2 separate regions of the Homo sapiens genome follow, and region 1 is linked to region 2. Evidence: promoter capture Hi-C in human tissues and cell types (Jung and others, 2019). All regions are on one chromosome and are shown on one strand. Each heading gives the region's core, a stretch centred on a gene start or on the middle of the fragment in contact. The rest is flanking DNA. Distances are from core to core; before and after follow the strand shown. Region 1 overlaps RNF103-CHMP3 (RNF103-CHMP3 readthrough). Region 2 holds the start of RMND5A (required for meiotic nuclear division 5 homolog A).

The links. Contacts are between HindIII fragments. The study calls those that stand out against the background at their distance.
Region 1: a contact is called between a fragment that was not itself captured here and the fragment with the promoter of RMND5A in region 2, in 2 of the 25 tissues and cell types used here (dorsolateral prefrontal cortex and hippocampus).

The regions. Positions count from the first base shown.
Region 1 is chr2:86,617,994-86,622,237 of GRCh38, forward strand. It overlaps RNF103-CHMP3 (RNF103-CHMP3 readthrough), which reads right to left. Exons shown (of 8, transcript NM_001198954.1): 3 at 2,337-2,476. The coding sequence starts at 2,468. It overlaps RNF103 (ring finger protein 103), which reads right to left. Exons shown (of 4, transcript NM_005667.4): 2 at 2,337-2,476. Among named protein-coding and RNA genes, the nearest start is that of RNF103, 3.7 kb to the right of the region's middle. The HindIII fragment of the contact is 6,359 bases long and covers 1-4,244 here.
Region 2 is chr2:86,717,446-86,721,910 of GRCh38, forward strand. It overlaps RMND5A (required for meiotic nuclear division 5 homolog A), which reads left to right and starts at 2,846. Exons shown (of 9, transcript NM_022780.4): 1 at 2,846-3,364. The coding sequence starts at 3,223. RNF103-CHMP3 (RNF103-CHMP3 readthrough) reads right to left here and starts at 3,677. Exons shown (of 8, transcript NM_001198954.1): 1 at 3,537-3,677. RefSeq lists an enhancer at 2,039-2,572 and silencers at 2,693-2,882, 2,766-2,924, 3,403-3,462. The HindIII fragment of the contact is 16,881 bases long and covers 1-4,465 here.

The DNA.
Region 1 (4,244 bases), core at 278-2,777, 100 kb before region 2:
AATGCAAACCTTGAGCATCACTGGAAAAATTAAGCAGGTGTCCTACTGCATTATTTCCATACATAGAAAAACCACAGAAATACATTCTATTTTTAAAGAGTTGTTTTTCAACTATTAATACCTATAAGGTTTAAAAATATTTTCAGAGAAAAAAAATTTAGCAACTAGAATTTATAATGCTACCATTTACTATCATTATTTGTCCTTCACTTCATTTGTCACCTTACCAGAGAATTCCTTGCCACTCTCATCTCCTTAATCTGCTTATTTTTCTTCTTACTACTTTCCACTAACTGATGTTATATTAAATATTTATTTATTTGGTGTCTGCCTCTCCCAACTAGAATGTGAGCTGCCTGACAGAGCAAGGCCTTAGCTTGGTGTGTGTTTCTGGTATATCTTCAGGGCCCAGAACAGGGCCTGGCACACCCACAACTGAATAAACTTTTGATGAATTCTGTCACATATTTATTACAGGAGCTTAATTCATGGATATCTTTAACAGGACATCAAAAACAGTAGATCATTTACAAGCCAAGAACATACTGCTAACTATTGAACCAGAATGTATTTGTTGTCTATAGGCAGCAGCCTATATAGCAAAAGAACTCAAGACTTTTGACATAGCCCTTCCAAGTTTCAAAGGTGTGCAACATCTTCACCATTTATTTCCATGGGATCATTCAATGTGGGTGACATTTAGACACTGAAAGCAGGGCAGTGGGACTGGCTATTCAATTCATCCTCAGTAATAAAATCTAAAATTATCAAAACCAGTGTCTTTCTCAATCAGACTATTAGAAATAAGTACCAGAGAAAAGAAACAGAATAACAATATACTTATACATTAAAGCTTTAAAAAAGCTCCACCTTATTTTTCAACTCCAACTGACACAGAAATAAACTAAAATTTAAATAGATAATGTATAGACTACACTCATACTCTCACATTCTCTCCCATTGCTGAACTTAAAAATTACTGAATTAGATTATCCGGAAGGTAAAAGGACAAATGCAATAGGAAGGATACAATAAAGAAAGGCCATGGATGAACAATGTAAATCTCTGGAAGAATTCCCAAACCTCAACCCTTTAGCACAGTGGACTACAGTACCATTTTATCCTTTTTAGATGTATATGTATTTATTTGAGGCCACGTGCAACAGAAAAATATACCTATTTACAATCATACTGCTAGTCAGTGACAGTACCAGACCTGTAACAGCGACAGTACCAGACCTGCAACTAATGTCTCTGAACTCATAGCTTTTCCTACCATATTTTGCAGTCTTTACTCTCAGAAAGAAATATGAAGAAACTGTTTTAATTTTCATGCCCTGAATCAAACTTTGCCCACTCCAGTGTGAAATGATAAGAGTACCAGTCAAGAAATCAGAAGACCTGGGTTTCATCCTGGTTCAATACTACCAACTAGTTCCATGACCTTGGGCAAGCTACTTCACCTCTCAGAGTCTCAGAAAGGGTTAGTCTGATATAATTTCCAAGCTTCAGCCATTCACAGACTACATTAATAATTTTAGCCACATTCACGCTGTTAATTTACTTGATATGTCACTTTGAATGTACAGTTTTAAAATGTAAATAACTTTAGTCCTGTCCTAAGCAAAATTTATGAAATTTATGTTAATATAATTTTTCTAATTTACATTAAAATATGTAAATGATAATGCATGCCCACTCACCATAAATTACATCTTGGAAAGCATAAAATATTTTTAAGGTCCATCATAGCTCTAAAATTCTAATATGCTAATTAAGTCTCACAGTTTTGCTATCATAAAAACAAGGGTTAAAAATTATAATCTCATCATCCTGAGTTACGTAATGAGCACCCCCACCATTTTCCACAACAGCTCCTCTATAGTCACAAAGTTGGCTATTTCCCTAATACAATGATTCCTTTACTTTTACTTTAGGGTTCTTACTTATATATAAAAATTACTCAGGCCACTGAATTAAAAACTGGAGATAATAAAAACTAAGAGAAACAGTGCAAATCACTAAATAAAAGGGATATATATGTGTATTTCTCAATTCAACAAAGGTCCAATAACTAAAATAGATTTGCTTCTGGGGATTCTAAACAAAAAGTTGACCCCCATCCCCCATCTTTCTCTTTCCCACTACTCAATTTTCATCTTCCTCAGTCTCCAAAACCTTTTTAAGAAGATACTGGAGCCTCCCTAAGAGAACTGAGTTATGTGTGAGAAACAAGACACAAGGACACGGAAGTGTCACTGGCTGGTACATACTATTTTGGTAAAAATAATTTTTTTAGGGCTCTCGAATTATCAAATTATTACTGCTTTTCATACCTGAACCAGCCAGATGCCATCTTTTGTGTCTTCCACAAGCTCATAGAAGTGCATTTCACCACTGAAATTGGTACTAGAAACCGATTCGGATGCTTCTTCTTCCTTGAGAGCAGAATAGAGCTCACCCTCCATCAAGTCACCTGAAGAAAGGAAAAGAATAACACTAATAAGGTTGCAAGAATCCTAGATTCCCAATTTCAGTAATTCTATTTTTTACACTGTTAAGAATCATGATATTGTACTTTCATTGTATTTTATAGACAAGAACTACTAGAAGAACCTGGATATACCCACTTAGGAGTCATACATTCAATAAATATGTAGTAAGAACTTCCTATGCATCAGGGAAAAGTGAACAAAATAGACAAAAATCCATCTCTTATAGAACAGGGCTTATATTTTAGTGGGGTTATCACATAATTATTAGGAACTTACCAAATTTGTACCACTCCAAAAAGGCACAACTTTCTTAATTATTTAGTTTTATGAATGACACATACAGGCTTCATATACATTTTTAAACAGTATGGCTTATATGCTTCTTACTTAAAAGATGTAGAATTGGGTTCACAGAATTTGCCATCAGCCCTGCTTAAAAGAGCAACAGGGTTTGTATGACTTGGAGGTTAGAACTTTACCTGTTAGACAGAACAAACTCCATATTCATATACAAATTTATATTATAAATTTAGAGCTTGTATCATTAAACAAAAAGGAAAGGAAAACACTAAAATCAAATTATTTTAACTTTCGCCTTAAATATTAAACAGTGAGAAACCAAGTACTGCACCATGATAGCAGCAAAACCATTCACAATAAACACTTAAATTTTAAACTGCTATACCATGACTTTTCTGCCATAAAACGTGTGATTTGAGTCATACTGGGCTGTGCGTCTTAAAGTTAAATGTGGACTTCTAGTACATTCAATGTGCCAAGTATTTTTAGGCCCAAAAGAAGGCAATAATAAATAACAGTCAAAAGAAAAAAAAATGTGTGACCAAATTATTTTCCATAAAAAAATGATGGCTTTGGCAGTTGAGACACTTCTCATCTCTAAACCAAGAGAGTTTATTTATTAGAGATCTTTTACCCTAGTTACTCCACTTCTTCCCCCTATGGTAGAAATAAGAATCGCCATAAACCAGTCAGCAAACAAGGGGCAAGAATAATATACGATTTTATATTTTCTCTAAAGAAACATTTATCACTTCTGCAGAGTGTGTTCCTCTCCTCTACCCTAATAGTGAGATATGAGTTTTATAACCCGCAACCTACAAATATCCAAGTGTTAAACTGCTAGCGAGCTCATACTCTTGTCTATCACGCTACATGTCTATAAGGTACTAAAGAAGGAAAAGATTTGTCTTGTAAAAGATACAGCTGACAAAAATACTTGAAACAACAAAAAAGATAACCATCAGTTTCAGCTGCTTCCCACAGCAACGCAGAAAGCCTTTCTCAAATTACATTCCACTTTCAGGAAGTATATCCAAAGATATACTTTGTGCAGCAGTGAAAAAAATTAACCATATTTCTCACCCAATCCTACCAAAACCAACAATTACTAAAAACACATTCTTTAAGACATTGAATATTCTCTCAGCACTATTTCACGTATATTTCTCAACCCATTAAACAATGCAAGGGTACCTGTGACACAGAAGACAAAAAAAATTTTTCTTTTACACATCCAAGATGCAAATTTTTAAAAATCCTAACAGAAATATAATATAAACTCGAACATGGCAGGCATTTATACAAAATGCTCGCCTTATTTTCACCAAACTTAAAGTCTGAAAAGCTAATACTGTACGGTGTATACTGTCTATATTCAAACTCATGATTTAACATTTAAATCCTAGGCCCAAGTGCCTCTGATAGTAAGTATTCCAAAGATGTGTCCCC
Region 2 (4,465 bases), core at 1,596-4,095:
CATGTGGTTATTATTTGATATGTGGTTAGCACAATTGGGGAACTAAATTTTAAATTATCTAGCTTATATTTCAATTTAAATAGCTACACGTGGGTCGGGTGCGGTGGCTCACGCCTATAAATCCCAGCACTTTGGGAGGCTGAGGCGGGTGGATCACGAGGCCAGGAGTTTGAGACCAGCCAGGCCAATATGGTGAAACCCTGTCTCTACCAAAAATACAAAAATTAGCTGGGCGTGGTGGTGTGTGCCTGTAGTCCCAGCTGCTCAGGAGGCTGAGGTAGGAGAATCACTTGAACCCGGGAGGCAGAGGTTGCAGTCAGCCGAGATCCCACCACTGCACTCCAGCCTTGGTGACAGAGTAAGACTCCATCTCAAAACAAAAAAACAAAAAAACAAACAAACAAAAAAACCTGCTTGTGGCTGGTGATTATGGTATTGAAGAGTGCAGGACTAGGTTCTAGAAGGTGTCACTAGTTAAAGTAAGACTTGTCTTGTTACTTGAAGAAAGGGAGGATTCGAAAAACAGAATAAAGAAAAGTGTCCCAGAAGAAGGCAAAGTATGAATGGGCTGTACTCAAGTCACACTAAGGGTGGGAAAGTGCTTCATGCCTGGATAGGGGTTTGTGCTGTGTTGCTACACAGGGCAGACCATGTCCTTGAGAGAGGATCTGAAGCTGTAGGTAATGAGGAGTCATTGATTATTTGTGATCAGTGGATTATCATGGCTCTTACCTTGTGCCAGGCATTTTGTTGAGTGCCTTAAATGGAATATTTCATACTATAACAACCCTTTGAAGGAGAAGAAAAAAAAAAGACTGAGAAAAGGGTGACTGAGCTTATCAAGGAGATCCTTGAAGAAAAGGGAGGAATAAACATAGATTTGTCTAGGCAGTTTGGCAGTGAAAGAAATGAGTGCTTGAGGAGGGTTAAATTAAGTTTCCTCCCCCAGGTAGGTCAAACCCATTTGGGCTGAAAGTAGAAAGGAAGAACCTACTGCAGAGAAAGAGGGGGAAGATCTGGACAGGGGTGAGAGGCAGCCCGCAGGCCCCAACGGCTGTCTTGGAAAGGGAGAAGGGACTCCTGGTCCTTTGGGTACATGAGAATGTTCACAAAATGGGTGGTACACAGCAATACTTGGAGAAGAGTGATAGAAGTTGCTGGAGCTAGATTTTTTTTTTTTTTTTAATCTCAGTGAAGAATCAGAGACATCTGCCAAGAGGGAAGAAAAATGGGGTGGGGAGAAGGGAGATCTGAAATAATACCAGTTGGGGCTGCCCTAATAATGACTACTACCACCTTTATCATGTGGTTATCATGAGCCTATTATGGGTATTTACATATATTCTCCTTTATCTAACAATTTAGTTAAGTATTAATTCCAATTATTTCTCAGTTATACGGAAGTTAAGGCTCAAAAACGTTATCACGTTAATTTAAGAAAAAGAATTGCCTACCACCTCACGCCAGGGGCTGTTCTAGGCAAAAAATTTAGACAAGCAGGGGGCCTGCCGTCATGGTTTTATGTAAGTGGTGCAGACAGAAAAATAAAACATCAGATCATTTCAGAGTTTAAGTGGTGTGGAAATAATAAAATGTGTTATGGTATTAACGGTGGGGAGGAAGTACATTAGTGTGGTCAGCCAGGGGAGGACCCTGTAAGGGGACAAGTGAGCTGAGAAGAACTTCAGGATGAAAAAGGTAGGAGGAAGAGTTTTCTGGGCCAAGGAAAGGGCAAGTGCAGAGGCCCTGAGGCACGAACTAGCTGGGCTCCTGAAGAAATGCAAAGGTAGTGCAGCCGATGCTGATCAAGGAGGTCTAGGCCAAGGCTGCAGACGCCATAGCAAGCGATGGGAAGGATTTACCCGAGGGGGTAAAGCCGATCCGATCCGATAGCATAAGGCTTCCTAGGGAGCAAGGGCCAGGCTGCCCGGCTCTCCAGCGCGTGTTCTTTCCACCCGGCTAAGCTGCCCGGCACATGGCTCTGGGGCGAGGCCACCGTCAGGAGAGGTTCCAGGCCAAGGGGCCAAAGGGCCACGGTCCGCGGGGGATGGGGACATGACCTCCTGGGTGTCGCAAGCCCGGGGCAGCGCTGACAGCCGGCGCGGGCCTTTCGCGAGCAGCAAGCGGCTCCCCTCACCCGGGCCCAATCACCCCCGCCTTTAATTCCCATTAGGGACCCCCCGCCGACGCAGAACCAGCCCCCGGGCGGCCTGGCTTGGTTTTTCATTCCCGGGAGATGGATCCGTCGCCCAAAAGTTCGGAATGACGGTACCCCTTTCCCTTAAGATCGATGAGGAGACGAAATAAATTGGGATCAGGGCGACGTCCTATGGAAAACAGCCTTTTGTATTTTTGTCTAGTTTTCCCCCAAGGCTTTCCATAAACTACTCGTTTCTCGGTACGCTCTCCAAGTCACCCCCTCCAACAGCGAGCCCGTTGGTTTGGCCCCTCAGCCCGGATTGGCTGAAGGCTTACGCCTCGGCCAGGGATTGGCTTCTTACCACTCCCCGCGCCCATTGGTTGGGGTTCCCCGCTTCTGGGCGGAGTGGTGAGGGCCGGTTTCCGCCTCCTTGTTTATGGAGCGCGTAGTTGTTGCGCTCTCCGAGCGCTGGGGCTGTCTCCAAAGTTCCCTATTTAGCTCCTCAGGCCAATTGGGGCCTCGCTCCACCCTCGCCCTCTCCCTCGCACGCCTTCCGTGTGGTACGGCCCACACCATTAGAGTGGCGGCGCGTGTGGGCGCCCGTCGCGTTCCTCCGCCCGTTCTCGCCGGGTCGCACCCCCCACCCCGAGGGTGTACTTGGTACGGCCCGCGCCGCCTCCTTTCCTCGCCCGGGTGGCCATCCCCCTCCCCCCAGTCGGCGGCGCTTGGTGCCGCCCGGGAGAACCAGGTCATCGGTCGGTTCCCGTGAAAACAAAAACAATCGGCCGCGCCGTCGCAGGCACCCGAACGTCGCGAGCGGGGCCTGGGGACGCGGAGCCGAGTGCAGCGAGCGAACGGGAGCAGCGGCGACTCGCCGGGGGGCTAGGGCGCCATGGGGCAGGCGGGCTCCGGCTGCGCGGGGCTCCCCCGGCGCCGCGGCTAGTGCGCCCGCCGCCTCGGCCGCCTCAGCCTCCCGCGCCGCCCGCTTGGGGAACGAGGAGCAGGACGCGGCCTCGGTGGGGCCCGGGCCGAACGGCTGCGGACACCTGGGCGCCGAGGAGCCGAGCGCCGCCGCCTCCGGCATGGATCAGTGCGTGACGGTGGAGCGCGAGCTGGAGAAGGTGCTGCACAAGTTCTCAGGCTACGGGCAGCTGTGCGAGCGCGGCCTGGAGGAGCTCATCGACTACACCGGCGGCCTCAAGCACGAGATCCTGCAGAGCCACGGTAGGGCGGCCCGCGTGGGCGCGCGGGGCATGGCCCACTGCCCGAGCCCCGGTCCCGGCCCCGCGGCGGGAATCCCTCACCCACCCTCGCGCCTCTGGCCCGGCCCTTGCCTCCCCTGAGGCGCGGAGGCCCCCAGACCCCTGAGACTTTTTCCCCTCTTCGTCCGATTTACCTCGAACCTGCCGCGACCTCGCTGCCAATTCAGAAGGAGCGCGAACCACCCGGAAACCCAGCCGGGAGCGGCGGGCTCCAGTCCGGATAAACGTGGGTGAGGGGGCCGCCCATCGCACCTGCAAACTGCCGACCCCCGAGTGGGCGCCCCTCGTCCCCCGCTCCCAGCCGGCCCCGGGAGTCTCACGTGGTGCCCGCGGCGCTGTTCTGTGGGCGGTGACTGAATCGCCTGGGACCCCAGGTTCTGAGTGATGAGGGCAGTGCAGGAAGCTCCGTTTCCCCTCTGTGCCGCCCCGAATCCTTGGCCAGGGGACTTCGTTTCTTCGTTTTATTTTGGAAAGTCGAGCGTTATTCTTAGCTGTGGGTTAACAACAGCCGCTCCTGCAACTTCATGATTTGGCTGCTGTGTGGACGCAGCTCTTAACTCCGCAGCGGCTCTGACATGGTTCCTTGGAAACCAGCTCAATTCAACCCTTCTGTTCTCCCAGTGTACCTTCTGATGACACCGAGGAGGAACGGGCGACATTTGCCCAAGTAAATTGTGCACATGTTGCTAGTTACTTGCTTTGCCTGGTTAAGTTCGTTCAAAAAAAATAAATTTTCCTATAGAAGGTGTTTCACCTAGATTGTTTTTTTTTTTACTGCCCCAAGCCCTGAGGACAGGTACTTTTAAAGGTTTGGTTTTCTTACACTTTAGAAGTCACAGCGATGATTCCTTTTGATCAAGAAGTGAAGGACTTATTTAATGGGTCTTTAATAAGAGGCTGAGGGGGCTTTTCAGCTTGTGGGCTGAACAGAAATTTATGTGAAGGACGGTTTGGTAGCTGGGGGAAGATGCAGATTATTTGTGGCAGGTGAGATGAGGGCAGTGGCGTTAGCTGAGTGTCTCTCTCCTTCTCCTTCATTTTTTCACACTTTCCCAGACTGCGT